Linked DNA regions of Homo sapiens: region 1 is linked to region 2. The links are contacts of gene promoters, found by promoter capture Hi-C in blood cells and fetal thymus (Javierre and others, 2016). All regions are on one chromosome and are shown on one strand. Each heading gives the region's core, a stretch centred on a gene start or on the middle of the fragment in contact. The rest is flanking DNA. Distances are from core to core; before and after follow the strand shown. Region 1 has its middle 320 kb from the start of SGO1. Region 2 holds the start of ZNF385D-AS1 (ZNF385D antisense RNA 1).

The links. The method cuts DNA at HindIII sites, captures the fragments that hold promoters and counts their contacts. A CHiCAGO score of 5 or more calls a contact.
Region 1: a fragment that was not itself captured here is called in contact with the fragment with the promoter of ZNF385D-AS1 in region 2 in 1 of 17 cell types (M2 macrophages); the score reaches 5.6 in M2 macrophages.

The regions. Positions count from the first base shown.
Region 1 is chr3:20,506,330-20,513,809 of GRCh38, reverse strand. It overlaps the pseudogene RNU6-815P. Among named protein-coding and RNA genes, the nearest start is that of SGO1, 320 kb to the right of the region's middle. The HindIII fragment of the contact is 6,600 bases long and covers 2,774-7,480 here.
Region 2 is chr3:21,539,351-21,547,206 of GRCh38, reverse strand. It overlaps ZNF385D-AS1 (ZNF385D antisense RNA 1), which reads right to left and starts at 4,418. Exons shown (of 3, transcript NR_046731.1): 1 at 4,212-4,418. All of the region lies in intron 3 of ZNF385D (zinc finger protein 385D), which reads left to right. RefSeq lists an enhancer at 3,270-3,850. The HindIII fragment of the contact is 1,504 bases long and covers 3,605-5,108 here.

The DNA.
Region 1 (7,480 bases), core at 4,824-7,323, 1.0 Mb after region 2:
CTAGAGCAATCACTAAGAAAAATATTTTTAAAACATATACAAAGAAATATATGCACACTACAGATAAGGAAAAATGTAACACTAAAAATTATTTCAGTAACCCACAGAAAGGTAAGAAAAGAGAAAGAGAGAAACAAAAACAAGACAAACAAAACAATAAAGTGGCAGCCTTAAATCCAGACATCAAAAATTACATTAAATATGAAGGGCTTAAAGACACCAATTAAAATATAAATGCTTTATATTAAAAAAATTATCAGAATATAGTTCAAAATGACTCAGCTATCTGCTGTCTACAAGAAATTCATTTCAAATATACTGATATAAGTAGGTAAAAAGTAAATAGAAGAAAAATATATATACCATGAAAACAATCACAAAAAAGCTATATAGCTATATGAATAGCAGATAAAGTAGACTTCAGAGAAAAGAAAAAAAATTACTAAGTACAGAAAGGAACATGACATTATGATAAAAGACTTAATATACCCAAAAAAGACATGAAATCTTTAATGTATCAAACTTAAAAACTTCAACAATCAAGATAAAAAGGATGATAAGAAGACAACTTATAACTTTTGAGCAACTAATACATACTGCTAATAAGTGTTAGACCCTGATTCAAACACTTTACATCTATTATCTCATTTAATCTTCACCAAAAGAAAAGCAAATACATTATTATCTCCATTCTGCATATAACATAATTAAGGGCTCTAAAGAGTTTAAGCATCTTGCCCAAGGTTACACAGTTAGCAATCCTTAGGCCAAATTATTTTTACTCTTCGTTCTGCCTCCATCAAGGTTTGTCTCCAAACACTTCAAAAATAAACAGTGTGATCATCATATCTAACACTGCTGTCCAACATTTACTCTTCTTGGTCATAAAGACAGAGTATTTTTAGTGGTGAACAAACACTGGATTCTAAATAAGTCATAGGAATAAAGTGGCTCTAGAAAACATCAGTAAATACAAAAGAGCCTGGAGCAGGAAGCAGTTAATTATGGGAAAGCTGGAAGTAACATCATGGCCACAGTGACCTCAACAGTGTGAAGGCTGCCATATAAGTTTGGGAAAGCAGGGCCCTGTACAACTCCTGGGATTCCGTTAACATAGAGACTAAATTAGACTATCATATAAAAGGCACCACCTGGAATCACAATACACAGCATGCCCTGCCATTTATAGTATTTCTGACAGTAATTATACTGTCTGAAAGTAATAAAGTCTGCTAAGAAGCTCTTGGCATTCAGAGCACCCACCCACCTGGATCAGCAGTCTGAACTCCACTTCGCAGAGACTATAGTGAAGTGAGGACCTCCTTGCTCCATGCCCAGGCATATCTCCAGCATTGGAGCACCTGCTCACGTGGATTAGCAGCCTGAATCTCCCCACCCTTCCTGTGCAGAGATTGTGGTGCAGCAGGACCCTCTATGCTCCACGCCCAGGAAGATCTCCAGACATCTGGAACACCCATTCTTCTGCAACAGGAGTTTAGGCTGCCCCACCCTCATGCAGAGACTTGAAGCCAGAGATTTCCCCAGCTCCATGCCTATGCCCACTTCTGAAAACTTGGTGGCCACTCACTGGATCTCCTTCTTGGTGCTGGTGCTTGTGCCTGCCATCAGGGAACCTGTAGGCAGGCTTACCTAATCTGGCCCTGCCTATCTTCATCCTTTCCTACAGGGTTTATCAGGGAGCTCAGGCCACTGTTCACTTCACGGATCAGCCCATTGCCTGAGGCTGGCTCTCAACAGAGTCTCCCAGTAAAAAAAGATCCAGTATATACTCATCCACATTGGCCATAGCCAGTTCTTATCTGTAAGCGCCATCTACTGACCTATAGGTCAAACTGCACAGTCCAATATAAAACCTGCTGACAGAAGTGCATAGGACTGTAGAAGCAAAGCCAGAAGACTCTACCCAACACTCTCTACAGTCACACCCCATAGGCAAAGAGGAAAAGTGAAAGACAAAAAAAGGAAAGAAAGACACATGAAAATAATTACATAAATTGGAAGTGCCAGTGTCTCGAGATGACAAGGAAAAAGGGCAAGAGTTCTGTCATCATGAAAAACCTGAATATTGTGACACCACCAAAGAATCACATCAGCTCTGCAGCAGTGGTCCCTAAAGAAAATGAAAACTCAAAAATGACAGAAAATGTGAAGCATGGATTGCAAGAAAGCTTAATGAGATCCAAGACAGTTAAAAATCAACACAGAGAAACTTCTCAACAATTCAGGAAAAGAAGGAAGAGAGACGCATCTTAAAAAGAAATGCATCAGAGCTTCTGGAACTGAAAAAACTCAGAGCTTGAACTGGTTCTTCAAACTAGCACATTCAGTCAAAATTTTTTTGAAAATTTTAAAACAATGAAACTTAAGACTTACTGGCATACCTGTGAGAGAAGGAGAAAAAGTAAACAAACTGGAAAACATATTTAAGGCAATAATTCAAGAAAATTTATTTTATCTTGCTATAGAGATAGACATCCAAACACAAGAAATTAAGAGAATACCTGTGATATACAATGCAAAACAAACATCACAAAGGCATATAGATACCAGACTGTCCAAGGTCAAAGCTAAAGAAAAAATCTTAAAGGCAGCTAGAGAAAATGGTCAGATCGCATACAAAGCAAACCCCATCAGACTAACAATGATCTTTTCAGCAGAAACCTGACAGCCAGAAGAGACTAGAGGCCTATTTTCAGCATCCCTAAGGAAAAGAAATTCTAACCAAGAATTTCATTTCTCCCGAAAATAAGCTTCAAAAGAGAAGGAGAAATAAAATATTTTTCAGACAAGCGAATGCTAAGGGGATTCATTACCACTACGCCAGCCTCATAAGAGATTCTTAAGGCAGTTCTAAACACGGAAATGAAAGAAAGATACTTGCTACCACAAAAATAAATTTACGTACATAGTCCTATTATGGAAACAGAAAATAAAAAAAGATCAGGGGTCACCATTCTTATATCAGCCAAAACAGACTTTAAACCAAGAGTAAAAAAAGATAAAGAAATGTAATATATAATGATAAAGGATTCGATACAACAAGAAGACTTAACAATTCTAAATATATATGCACCAAACGTTGGATGACCCAGATTCATAAAACAAGTACTTTTAGACCTTCAAAAGTATTTACACAGCCACATAATAATAGTGTGGAATTTCAACATTCCACTGACAGAATTGGACAGATCATTGCGGCAGAAAACTGACAAGGAAACTCTGGACCTAAATTAAACACTTGCGCAATTGGACCTAATAGACATCTAAAAAGTAGCAAACACACCTACATCAAGAAGTTAGAAAGACCTCAATTTAACAATCTAATACTAGATCTAGAGCAATTTGAAAAACAAGAACAAAGTAACCCCAAAGCTAGCAGAAGAAAACAAATAACTATAATTGGAGCAAGACTGAACAAAATTGAAAGGCAAAAATTCATACAAAGGATCAAATAAAGCAAAAGTGGGTTCTCTGAAAGAATAAATAAACAAGATCAATTAACCATTAGCTAGATTAACACAGAAAAAATGAGAGAAAACCCAAACATGCAGAATCAGAAATAACGACTGATCTCACAGAAATATAAAGGATCCTCAGAAACTATTATGAACACCTCTGTCCACACAAATTAGAAAATCTAGAGGAAATGGACAAATTCCTGGAAACACACAACCTGCAAAGACTGAATTGAAAAGAACTTGAAACCCCGAACATATCAACATTGACTTCAGAAATTAAATCAGTAATAAAAAACCTACCAAAAATAATAAAGCCCTTGACGAGATGGATTCACAGCCAAAATATAGAGACATACAAAGAAGCGCTGGTAAGAATATTGCTGAAACTGTTCTAAAGAATTGTGAAGGAGGGACTCCACCCTAACTAATTCTGTGAAGCCAGAATTACCCTGATAGCAAAATCTGGCAAAGACACAATACAAAAAGAAAACTATAGACCAATATTCATGATGAATATAGATACAAAAATCCTCCACAAAATACTAGCAAATAGAATCCAGCAGCACGTCAAAAAGTTAATTCACCGTAATGAAGTAGGCCTTATTTCTTGCATATGAAGTTGGTTCAACATAAGCAAATCAATAAATGTGATTCACCATATACACAAAACTAAAAACAAAAACCATACAATCATCCCAATAGATACATAAAATGTTTTCAATAAAAGCTAATATATTTTCATGATAATTCTCAACAAACTAAGCAATGAAGGAACATAACTCAAAATAATAACAGCCATCTATGACAAAACCTTAGTCAACATCATACTGAGTAGGAAAAGCTGGAAGATTTCCCCCTTGAGAACTGGCAGAAGAAAAGGATGTCCTCTCTCACCATTCCTATTCAACATAGCACTGTAAGTGATAGCAAGAGCAATCACGCACTAGAAAAAAAGCATCCAAATAAGAAAAGAAAAAGTCAAACTATCTCTCTTCATTGATGATATAATCCTATACCTAGAAAATCCTAAAGACTGCCAAAAGGCTTCTGGAACTGATAAACAACTTCAGTAAAGTTCCAGGATACAAAATCAACGTACAAAAATCAGCAGCATTTCTATACACCAATAACATTCAAGCTGACAGCCAAATTAAGAATGCAATTATATTTATACTAGCCACCAAAAAATAATAAAATATCTAGAAATACACCTAACCAAATAGGATCTCTACAATGGGAATTTAAAAACATTGCTGAAAGAAATCAGAGATGATATAAACAAATGGAAAAACCTTCCACACTTATGAATTGGAAGAATCAACATTGCTAAAATGGCCATACTGCCCAAAGCAATCTACAAACTTAACAATATCCCTATTAAACAACATCAATTTTCAAATAATTAGAAATAAATATTCTAAAATTCATACGGAACCAAAAAAAGAGGTCAAATAGCCAATGCAATCCTACACAAAAAGAACAAACCCAGATTCATCACATTACCTGAATTTAAACTATACTGTACTATAAGCCTACAGTAACCAAAGCAACATAATATTGGTACAAAAACTGACATATAGACCAAAGGAAGAGAATAGAGAAACCAGAAATAAAGCCACACACATACAGCCATGTGATATTCAGCAAAGCTGTCAAAAATAAACAATGAAAAAAGGATTCCCTGTCCAATAAATGGTACTGAGATAACTGCCTAGCCATATGCAAAAGAATGAAACTGGATCCCTACCTTTCACCATATACAAAAATTAATTAAGATTGATTAAAGATTTAAATGGAAGACCTCAAACTGTAAAAATCCTAGAAGAAAACTTACAAAATACCATTCTGGACATTCGACTTAGCAAAGAATTTATGATTAAGTCCTCAAAAGCAGTTGTAATGAAAACAAAAATTGACAAGTGGGATCTAATTAAACTAAAGAGCTTATGCACAGCAAAAGAAACTATCAACAGAGAAAACAGACAACCTACAGAATGGGATAAAATATTTGCAAACATTGCATCTGACAAAGGTCTAATTTCCAGAATCCATAAGGAACTTAAACAATACAACAAGCAAAAGATTAATAACCCTAATAAAAATGGGCAAAGGGCATGAACAGACATTTCTCAAAAGAAGATATGCAGATGACTGACACACATATGAATATCACTAATCATCAAAGAAATGGGAATCAAAACCACAATGAGTTACACTAGTCAGAATGGCTATTACTGAAAAGTCAAAAAATAACAGATGCTGGCAAGGTTGTGGAGAAAGGGAAATGCTTATATACTGTGGAAATATAAACTAGTGCATCCATTATGGAAAGCAGTTTGAAATTTTCTCAAAGAACTTAAAATAGAATTACCATTTGACCCAGCAATCCCATTACTGGGTATATACCAAAAGGAAAATAAATCATTCTACCAAAAAGACACTTATACTTGTATGTTCACTGCAGCACTACTCACAATAGCAAATATACGGATCCAACCTAGGTGTCCATGAACAGTGGATTAGAAAATGAAAATATGGTGCATGGAATACTACATAGCTGTGAAAAAGAATGTAGTACCCACCTTAGCAGCACATATACTATTAATAACATTGGAAAAATACAGAGAAGGTCAGCATGGCCCCTGTGTGAGGATGACATGCAAATTTGTAAAGCATTGCATATTTTTTATAACACAATTGGAAGTATGAACAGCAGAGTATACTAGTCTGAGGAAAAAAAGAATCTCAGAGCTTGATGACCAGTTCTTCGAAACAACTCAGACCAAAATGAAGAAAAAAGTATTTAAAAAAAGGAACAAAACCTATCCAGCCAAACCAAGTTTCATGAGAAAAGGAGAGATAAAATCCTTTTTAGACAAGAACATGGTAAGGCAATTTATTACCACCAAACTGGCCTGAGAAAAGGTGCTTAAGGGAGTGCTAAACATGATAACAGAAGACCATTACAGGCCACCACAAAAACACAATTAAGTACATAGACCATTAACACTATAAAGCAACTACACAGTCAAGTGTACATAACAGCCAGCTAACAGTATGGTAACAGGATCAAATCCACCAATATCAATATTAACCTTGAATATAAATGGACCATACACCCCACTTAAAAGGCAGAGTGTCAAGTGAATAATGAAGCAAGACCCAACTGTATGATGTCTTCAAGAGATCCATCTTACATGCAAGGACACTCATAGGCTCAACATAAAGAGTTGAGAAAAATCTGTCTAGCAAATGGAAAACAAAAAAGAGCAGTGGTTGCTAGTCTTATTTCAGACAAAACAGTCTTTAAACCAACAATGATCAAAAAGGACAAAGAAGGGCATTACATAATGATAAAGCATTCAATTCAACAAGAAGACTTAACTCTCTTAAATATATATGCACTCAACACTGGAGAACCCAGATTCACGAAACACATACTTAGAGACTTGAGATACTTAGATAATCACACAATAATAGTAAGAGACTTCAACAACTCACTGATAGTATTAGACAGATTACTGAGGCAGAATATTAACAAAGATACTTGGGACATAAACTCAACATTTCACCAAATGGACCTAATGGATATCTACAGAATACTCCACCTGACAAAAATAGAATCTACACTCTTCTAATCTGCACATGGCATATATTCTAACATGAATGACACACTCAGCCATGAAACAACTATCAACAAATTCAAAAAAGATGAAATCATACTAACCACATGCTTGGACCACTGCACAGTAAAAATAACAATCAATACCAAGAAGATCTCTCAAAAGCATACAATTACATGGAAATTTAAAAATGTGCTTCTGAGTGACTTTTGAATGAAGAATAGAAATAAGGCAGACATCAAGAAATTCTTTGGAACTAATGAAAACAAAGTTGCAACATACCAGACTCTCTGGAACACAGCTAAAGCAGTTTCAAGAAGAAAGTTTATAGTGCTAACACCCACATCAAAAAGTTAGAAAGATCTCAAATTAACAATC
Region 2 (7,856 bases), core at 3,169-5,668:
GGGAAATTAACTCTTTCCAGTTTGGAGGCTTCATCTGAGGGGAGTCTCCCATAGTACAGAGACACAATTACATATCAGTGAAGAGAGGATCCGAGGAGAAAGGAATAAAAAGGCATTTTTCAAAGGAGTCCCAGGGTTTCAGCATGCATTCTAAAGGGATACAGGCAGAAGATGAATGGCTACCCATTTAGAAAGAGGGGAGCAAGTGTCCCTGGTTCCCTTCTCTTCCTATCAGATACCCAGGGTATGTAGGGCAGAGAGGGAAGAGTGTCCACTTTCCCTCTTCTGTCCTTGCATCCACGAGCTCCAGCGACTTTGGCAGGCACCACCGTGAGTGCAAAAGTGACTTGAACCCATGAAGCGGGGGGGGCTAGAGAATAGGAATTATCCACTCTCACCTATGTCTCTTTCCCACCTACTGCCAGTAGCCTTGGAGTTCCCTAGACCTCATTTATGCCATGGATATTAACGTGGCCTTTATCCATGAAACAGGAAGCTTGCGGCTGGCTTAAATGGCAGGAATCAGCCACACTCACCTAAGCTGTGCCTTTTAACCTCTGCTTGCCTCTGGATCCCTTAGATCCAGTTCTCTTTCCTAGAGCTTTGACCTAAAGCTTGGAATTGAGTCTGGGACAAAAATATGTCTCAGGGGGGTTGCATGGACTCCTTATCATAAGCCAAATCTAAGGTGAAACTGTGGAACTGAGTCCTCCTCCAACAAGGGAGAGGAAAGGATGTCTTGTGACATACCCATCTAACTGCTGGCTATAGTTAGGCTTGCTGGGATTTGGGTGAATGGTGCTTGGCTTTGGTTAGTTCCCTTGGTCTTACTTTCCCAAAAGGAAACCTCTGGGTGATGGGCACACTATTTATTCCATCACCGGATAGGATTTGCAGGATAATTGCTCAGAACTAGAGTATCAATCCGGATTCCTACATTACTCATCCTGTTAGTTCTTTCTGAGCTGCAGCCAGAGATTGCTGGTAGGGTCACAGGAACAAGCAGGGTTAGTGTAAAATGTAGGCAAAAACTTAAAAACAACTAATGAGTTTCAAATTTAATGACAGATGTATGGTAAGTTTGATGAGTTTTGGGACATAATTTCTCCTTCCAGTCCTCAATTTTGTTACCAAAAAAAAAATATGATAGGACTGAGTAGTTTGCAAAATAGACTTGGCTTGATTATTGGCATAAAGTACAGCAAGAATAATTATTTCTACAAAGGCCTTTTGTATTGGCTTTGATGGAAGTTTGTTCCACAAGGAATCTCAGATAAGACCTTTTAAAGCCCAGCCCAACCATGGGTTTGCATCCTCAAAAACCTGTGAGCTGGGTGATCCTCTCCTCTTGAGGTCCCAAGATAAACTTGGAGTTCCTAGACCTGTTAGAAAGTGACACTCTTTACTGAACACAAGTCAGGAACCCTGATTAGGGACTGTGTAGAGGAGGGTCTCAGGCCAGTCTCCCATGGAGCTTTTATCGGCTCTGTAAGTCGAACTTGACTCCTTATAGGGAAGCATACCCTTCCAGTCAAAGTCTTGATAAAATAACAGTTTTTTTCCAATTGTGTTCTAATGCAAAAGAAAAATGGATTTTTATTGCTGTCATCCAAACAACTATATTGCCATAAGAATACTCATAGTTTCCAAATTCTAGAGGAGCCAGGCAGAGGGAAACAAACATGCTCCAAATTCTGATCACAGGAGTGTATACCTTATTTATTAAAAAACTTTAAATAGTTCAAAATAAGTTTCCTTGACTCTGAAAAACAGAACATAGATCAGCAATATTCCAGGCAAAAGTCAAAAAAGTTGCTTCTGCTTTGAGTTCAGTCCATTTAGTAAACTCTTGCTTTGCTTGATATTCACGAGCATTTCAGCTCTTCATGAGTCTTGTACATTTTCCTTTATTCCAATGTTACAATCTCTAAAGTTATCACAAGTCTGTATTTGAGAGCACCTGTTAAAGTTCTATAGCTCATTTTAAACCATCTTTGAAAAGGATTAAAACAAGACAAAAATTGTCTGTGAATAGCAAAATATCCAGGGTAGTTACAGTTAGAAACACAACAGGGAAAGAAGTTTAGTTATCTCTATGGTTTACAATAACTTAACAACCTTCATTATGATTGATGGCATATACTTAGCCATTAGTTTTAGAAATCCCATACAATTTTCGAACATATGTTAGCATTATTCACCAAGATATAACCTAAGGAAGATTGAACATCATTTTGGCAATCCTGTATACGTGAACACGTCAAATAATCCTGTTTGCCTCTCTTTTCTGGACACTTCAGGGGCCCTCTGAAGTATTCGCAAAGCCAGGTGCCAGGGAAGACAATTTTGAAACTGAAGTTTGATTTTGGTTAGGCTGCTAAATGTTCGAGGTCTAAAACACTTAATATTATGAAACAGAATTCCAGATTGCCAAAAAGTTATTTATTTTGCCAAAATGATGACTCAGAAATTTTAAAGAAGCAAAAACCTTTCATGAATCTTTATAAATTTTGCCGAAGACCAGATTAGCATTTTAAGAATACCTTCTGATTGTATTTCAATGCTCAATTTGCAGAAAAACCACATAATACCTTTTTTTGAATTCAGTCAATATGTTCACACAGAGAACCTCTTTTTCAAGATTAATTTCCAGAATTTTTCCAACACTTCTTTGAACCTTCAGCTTTTTCCTAACTCAAAACAATCCTGTAACCCTAGGCGAAAGTTTACATTTCCACACCTTCTTATAACCTTTCACTAAAAAAAACACAAAACACATTTTACTGTTCCTACACACCTTGCATGCAAATCCATTTCTAGTAATGTCGATAAACTCCTAGCAATTTTTAACTTTAAGGGAAAACTTGATAAGTTGCCTTAATTGTGTGCTAACTGCAGCCACGTTTTGCCTTCTTAGTCAAGTCTGTGGTTAGTTCCATATGTCCCCAGGCCTTACCAATTGCGAAGCTGGCAAAGCAAATAGTTCTCAAAACCCAACAAGCAGTTTAACCTCAAAACACTTGCATCTGACCTGCATTTTACTAAGTCTTTAGGGCTGTTTTTATTTCTTAAAGATTAAAGCCACGTGAACTGAAAGGTACCACAGATTTTATCTGCCCTTTAAAAAATATTAGATCCAAGTGCTTGTCTTTCTTTAGGACAAATTAATTAGAACTCTTTTTACGGACATCACACACTACACACACACAAAAAAATCCAGTCGCTAGGTGGGGTCCTTTAAGAAACAGGGCTAGGAAAACATGCAGATATCAAACCAGAAAGAAACTTACTTCCTAAGGCAGGATTGCTAAACAAAGCCTTGCCACCAGTTACAAGCCATGCCCTCAGGATGTAAAACAACATGGAGGCTTCATTTCACAACCAAAACTTTGCAGAAAATATAAACAGCGATAGCTGCGGGGCTGGGGGGCCTACCTTAATACAACATCTTCTAGAAAGAAAGAAAAAAAGAAACTTTAAAAGTTAACTTGCTGACAGGACACAGAAGGGGAAAGAAAATCAACAGTTTAAGAATGCCTGGGGAAGAACCTCTTATTCTTATGCAACTGTTTCCTCCACCAGTTGCATAAGAAAAGTTAAAGCTTAATTACTGTCGGATGGAGTAGAACCCCTTGGGTGGGGAAGGGGAAGGCTGCAGACGCTTGTGGCTGGGAACCAGCCAACCGGCTGTGCGGGACCCTTAGGCCATGCATCCCAGCCCCGCAAGGAGTGGGGAGCGGCTGGGAACTGCTGCTCGCTAGTCCGTCTGGAAAAAGGAAAAGACCGTGAAAAGGCCCCCGACCCCCAGGAGCGACAAGGGGTGGGGAGCGGTCTCCCATATGCTCAGAAGTTGCAGGATGAAAAGTCTTAGAAACAAGGGTGAGCGGTTTTCCGAGATAGTCCCGCTCTTGTCGCGCAGGCTGGAGTAGAGTGGCGTGATCTTGGCTCACTAAAACCTCCGCCTCCCAGCCAGCTTCAAGTGATTCTCCTGCCTCAGCCCCCTGTGTAGCTGAGATTACAGGCGCGCGCCACCACACCGGCTTATTTTTGTATTTTTACTAGAGAGGGGTTTCACCATGTTGGCCAGGCTGGTCTCAAACTCCTGACCTCACGTGATCCGCTCGCCTTGGCCTCCCAAAGTGCTGGAATTACAGGCATCAGCCACCGCGCCCGGCCAACAGTGAGAGGTTTTGAGTCCCCCTTTCACTCACCTCTTCAAGAGCCCCAACGTTGCACGCCAAGAATGTTGCAGGACTTTTCCTTCCTTCATCTGAAGACTGGGTTCTTGTCCGTCCCAAGGCCAGGAAAATTTAGGTTTGGAGAAGGTTTAAAGGGTGAATAAAGCAGGGTTTTATCGAGTGAAAGTCGGCGGGAAGAAAAAAAGGGAAACAAGTTTCCTCCGCAAGGTCAGAGTTCCCCGATCGAGGCTTCCTGTCGGCCCTTGAAATCGCAGGTTCCACACAGGAAGAGGAGGGGCCAGGCTCCTCCCTATTGAACTTCCTGAGGCTACACCTCAGTGGGCAGGCTGATTAGAGTTTGTCCAGGGTACCCCCCTCACCTGGCTGTTTCAGTGGCACACACCTGTAATCCCAGTGCTTGAGGAGGTGGAAGTAAGAGGATCACTGGCAGGCCAAGGGATTGAGAGCAGCCTGGGCAACACAGCAAGACTATCTCTCCAAAAATCTTAAAAAATTAGCCGGGCATGGTGGTGCGCACCTGTAGTCCTAGCTACTTGAGAAGCAGAGGTTTGAGGATTGCTTGAGCCCAGCGGTTCGAGGTTGCAATGGGTACTGATCACACCACCGCTCTCCAGCCTGGGCAGCAGGCTGACACCTCATCATCTCTGGGAAAAAAAAAAAAAGAAAGAGAAGAAAAACCCAGGAATCTCTAAGATGGTTTAAGTTTCATAATTTCTGCATTTTGATAAAAATGAAGTTTAGGCTTCCTTTTCCACAGTGACTACTCTCTCCACAATGCAGGATTCATATCCTAAGTAACTGATTCTCTGAAACCTAAACATGAAAATTCACATATTTTTAAAGGGAAGTAAATAAGTGCAATTAGACTTGAGCATGACCTAGAAACTTGTTCTTATGATTCTGAAAGCTTGTTTTGTAGAAGCCTCCGAGTTTTAGTTTATTTGAAAAAAAATTACTATTGTCAAACATCCCCAAATTTTAGCTTTATGATTGTGAATATTTCAGAGTGCACCAGCGCTGATGAAATCTTTATTAGCTATGGAATAAAATCCTTGATGAAAACCAGTTGCCCACAAATTGCTGGATATACATATCTATTAAAATTTTAATCAGTTTTTTTGTATCTCTTTTTACAACTGTATACACTTCTTAAAGTATTAGTAGGCACTAACAAAACTTATAGAAACCAAAAGTAGAAACTAGATTAGTGGTCACCAATAATTGAAAATCTCAAAGATAAAATTTGCTCATTCCATTTCATTAATCCTAGTTCCTGTTTATCAAGACTCTTGCTTTTTTTGTTATATTTTGTTATAATTTATTTCAGCATATCATAAATAATCAGTTTCATCCTAGTCCTGAAAACTAGGACAGTAGGAGGGTTTGTTCCTGGTCAGATGAGCAAAGAAATTTAAGAAAAGGTAACTCATATTAATGTCTATTCCTGTGTAATTTGGGGTTTTGTGGCCATTCGTATCCTTCCCTTCCTAACAGTTGCTATTTGTTGTTGTCTAATTTTTACTGAGCCCTATCCTCTGTATTAACTAGAGTAATTGTGATGAAATAATTTACCTTTCTCAAGTGTCTCCATGGCCAAAAATGTCTATGTAGAAAAAATGAACTTTATTTTTAGAGCAGTTTGAGGCTCACAGTAGTATTAAGCAGAAGGTACAGAGATTTCCCATTTACCTTCTGCCCCCAAATCTGTGTAGCACCCATTCATTTTTAACCTTCTTCACACTAAAGTTTCTTATGGTGATTGGTTTAAGAGTGGTGATTTGGTTTTATTCTCTAATTAAGGGGAATGAAATTGTACCAGGCATGCATAAATTACACACTGCATTTGGATTACGTTGCTAGAATTTCTTAGATGACTTATCAGAATTTGAAAAGATGAATGTATTCTTTCATATTCTACAGATCTTTGCACAATCCAGGTACTACTATATTAGAACACTGTACTTACACCCAACACTGGCCCAGATTCACCTTTTATGAAGCCTACCAAACCTCATTTTAAATGCAAAATACTGCCTCTGGGATCTGTTGTCTCAGTCCAAATCTGTGTTTTGATATAAATTGAATCTGATAGTGGTAAAGATTGCAGTCGTTTGGGGAAGTCTTACCTCGTGAGGAGGGAGTTGAAGAGAAACGGAGGCAAGATATGCCATGAAAGTTTAATTCTCTGTGTACATGTGATTTTCAGTGGTACTTCGAGAAGTAGATCTTTTCATAATCACATAAGTAACATTCAGGGTATGTGGTTACTCTTTATTGGGCATAAATGAGCTTTTAAATTTCTTGTTTACGAAATCTGTGGAGATTGACGTATGGCAAATTATTCTTATCAGGTTTATCGGGACATCAGGTTCATCTTCACAACTTTTAACCTTCTCTTAGATTCCTTTATAAATAAGTTTTCAGAAGGTAGTCTCTGAACAGGTTTTATCCATTTCCCAAGCAGAGCTTATTTTCTCTGCATCAGCGAACTTGTCATGATAATCAACTTTTTTCGTCCCAACCATCAATCACTCTTGATTACAGCTGGGTAGAAGTTCTGTTCCGTTGATCAGCTCATCAGTGCACATAATATTACACCTGGAGGCCAGTACAAATCATCCCCCGAGGGGAAAAGCATTTTCCTTCAAGGCTTTTGTCGATGGTTTTATCATTTACATTTAGGTCTCATTGAGTTGTCATGTCTATCTTTGACTCTATCTTCTCTCTCATATAAAATATTCTACCAAAATAGCTCTCAAAATTTGCTTGATTGTTTGTGCTATATTGTTATTATTCTGCTTTTGCCTATTTAATTCAAAAAAAGGAGCTTATAATCTATTGTATTTTTATTATCATAGTAAGCTTTCTCCAGCTTCTAACTAAATGCATATGAATTATACTTCGATGAATATTCAGTAATTCTGTAAAAAGCAGTGTAGCCTATGTATTACTAGAACGTTTGCAAGTCTAATTTTGTTTATTTTTAATGGTCTCTTAAGTTAGGTTTTTGTTTTATGTTTTGGCTTGGGCTAGGGAATATGTATCTTTAATTTTCATCTTATTTTAAGTAAAACTAACTAGCTATCTTCATGGTTTAAAAAGACATAGAGAAGTAAATATTTTAAAATCAATTGCTCAAAATCAGCATTACTCTTATGCTGTGTTTGTAGTAAAAATATTTCTTATTTCTCCAAGCCAACCCATATTTCTTAAGACCGTAGCATTATCAGAAAAGTTACTATAACAATGATAAAACATTATCATGGTAGAACATTTATTGGTTTCATAAAATATTTAAAATAAATATATGATTTTTAAAAACATTTAATATATTCTTTGTGTATTCCATAAAGAAACTATTTTTCTCTTTCTTGTATTTTGTTGTATTTTTATCACTTTATAAAATCTGAAACAATAATTTAGAGAATCATTTTAACATTTAGAGTACAAAGCATAAAGAAAACAAACTAACATATGAAATTACTGAATAATGTGGATTTAATTAGAAGTCATGTCCTTCTATTAAAAGGCCTAATTACAAAAATTAAAATTTCTTTTATGGTTGAACTGCCTATGACAGTGATATATATCTATTTTTGATTGAAATAGGCCAACAGAGAGTTCTGTGTTTTTATTTGATACCAGCATTTAGATATT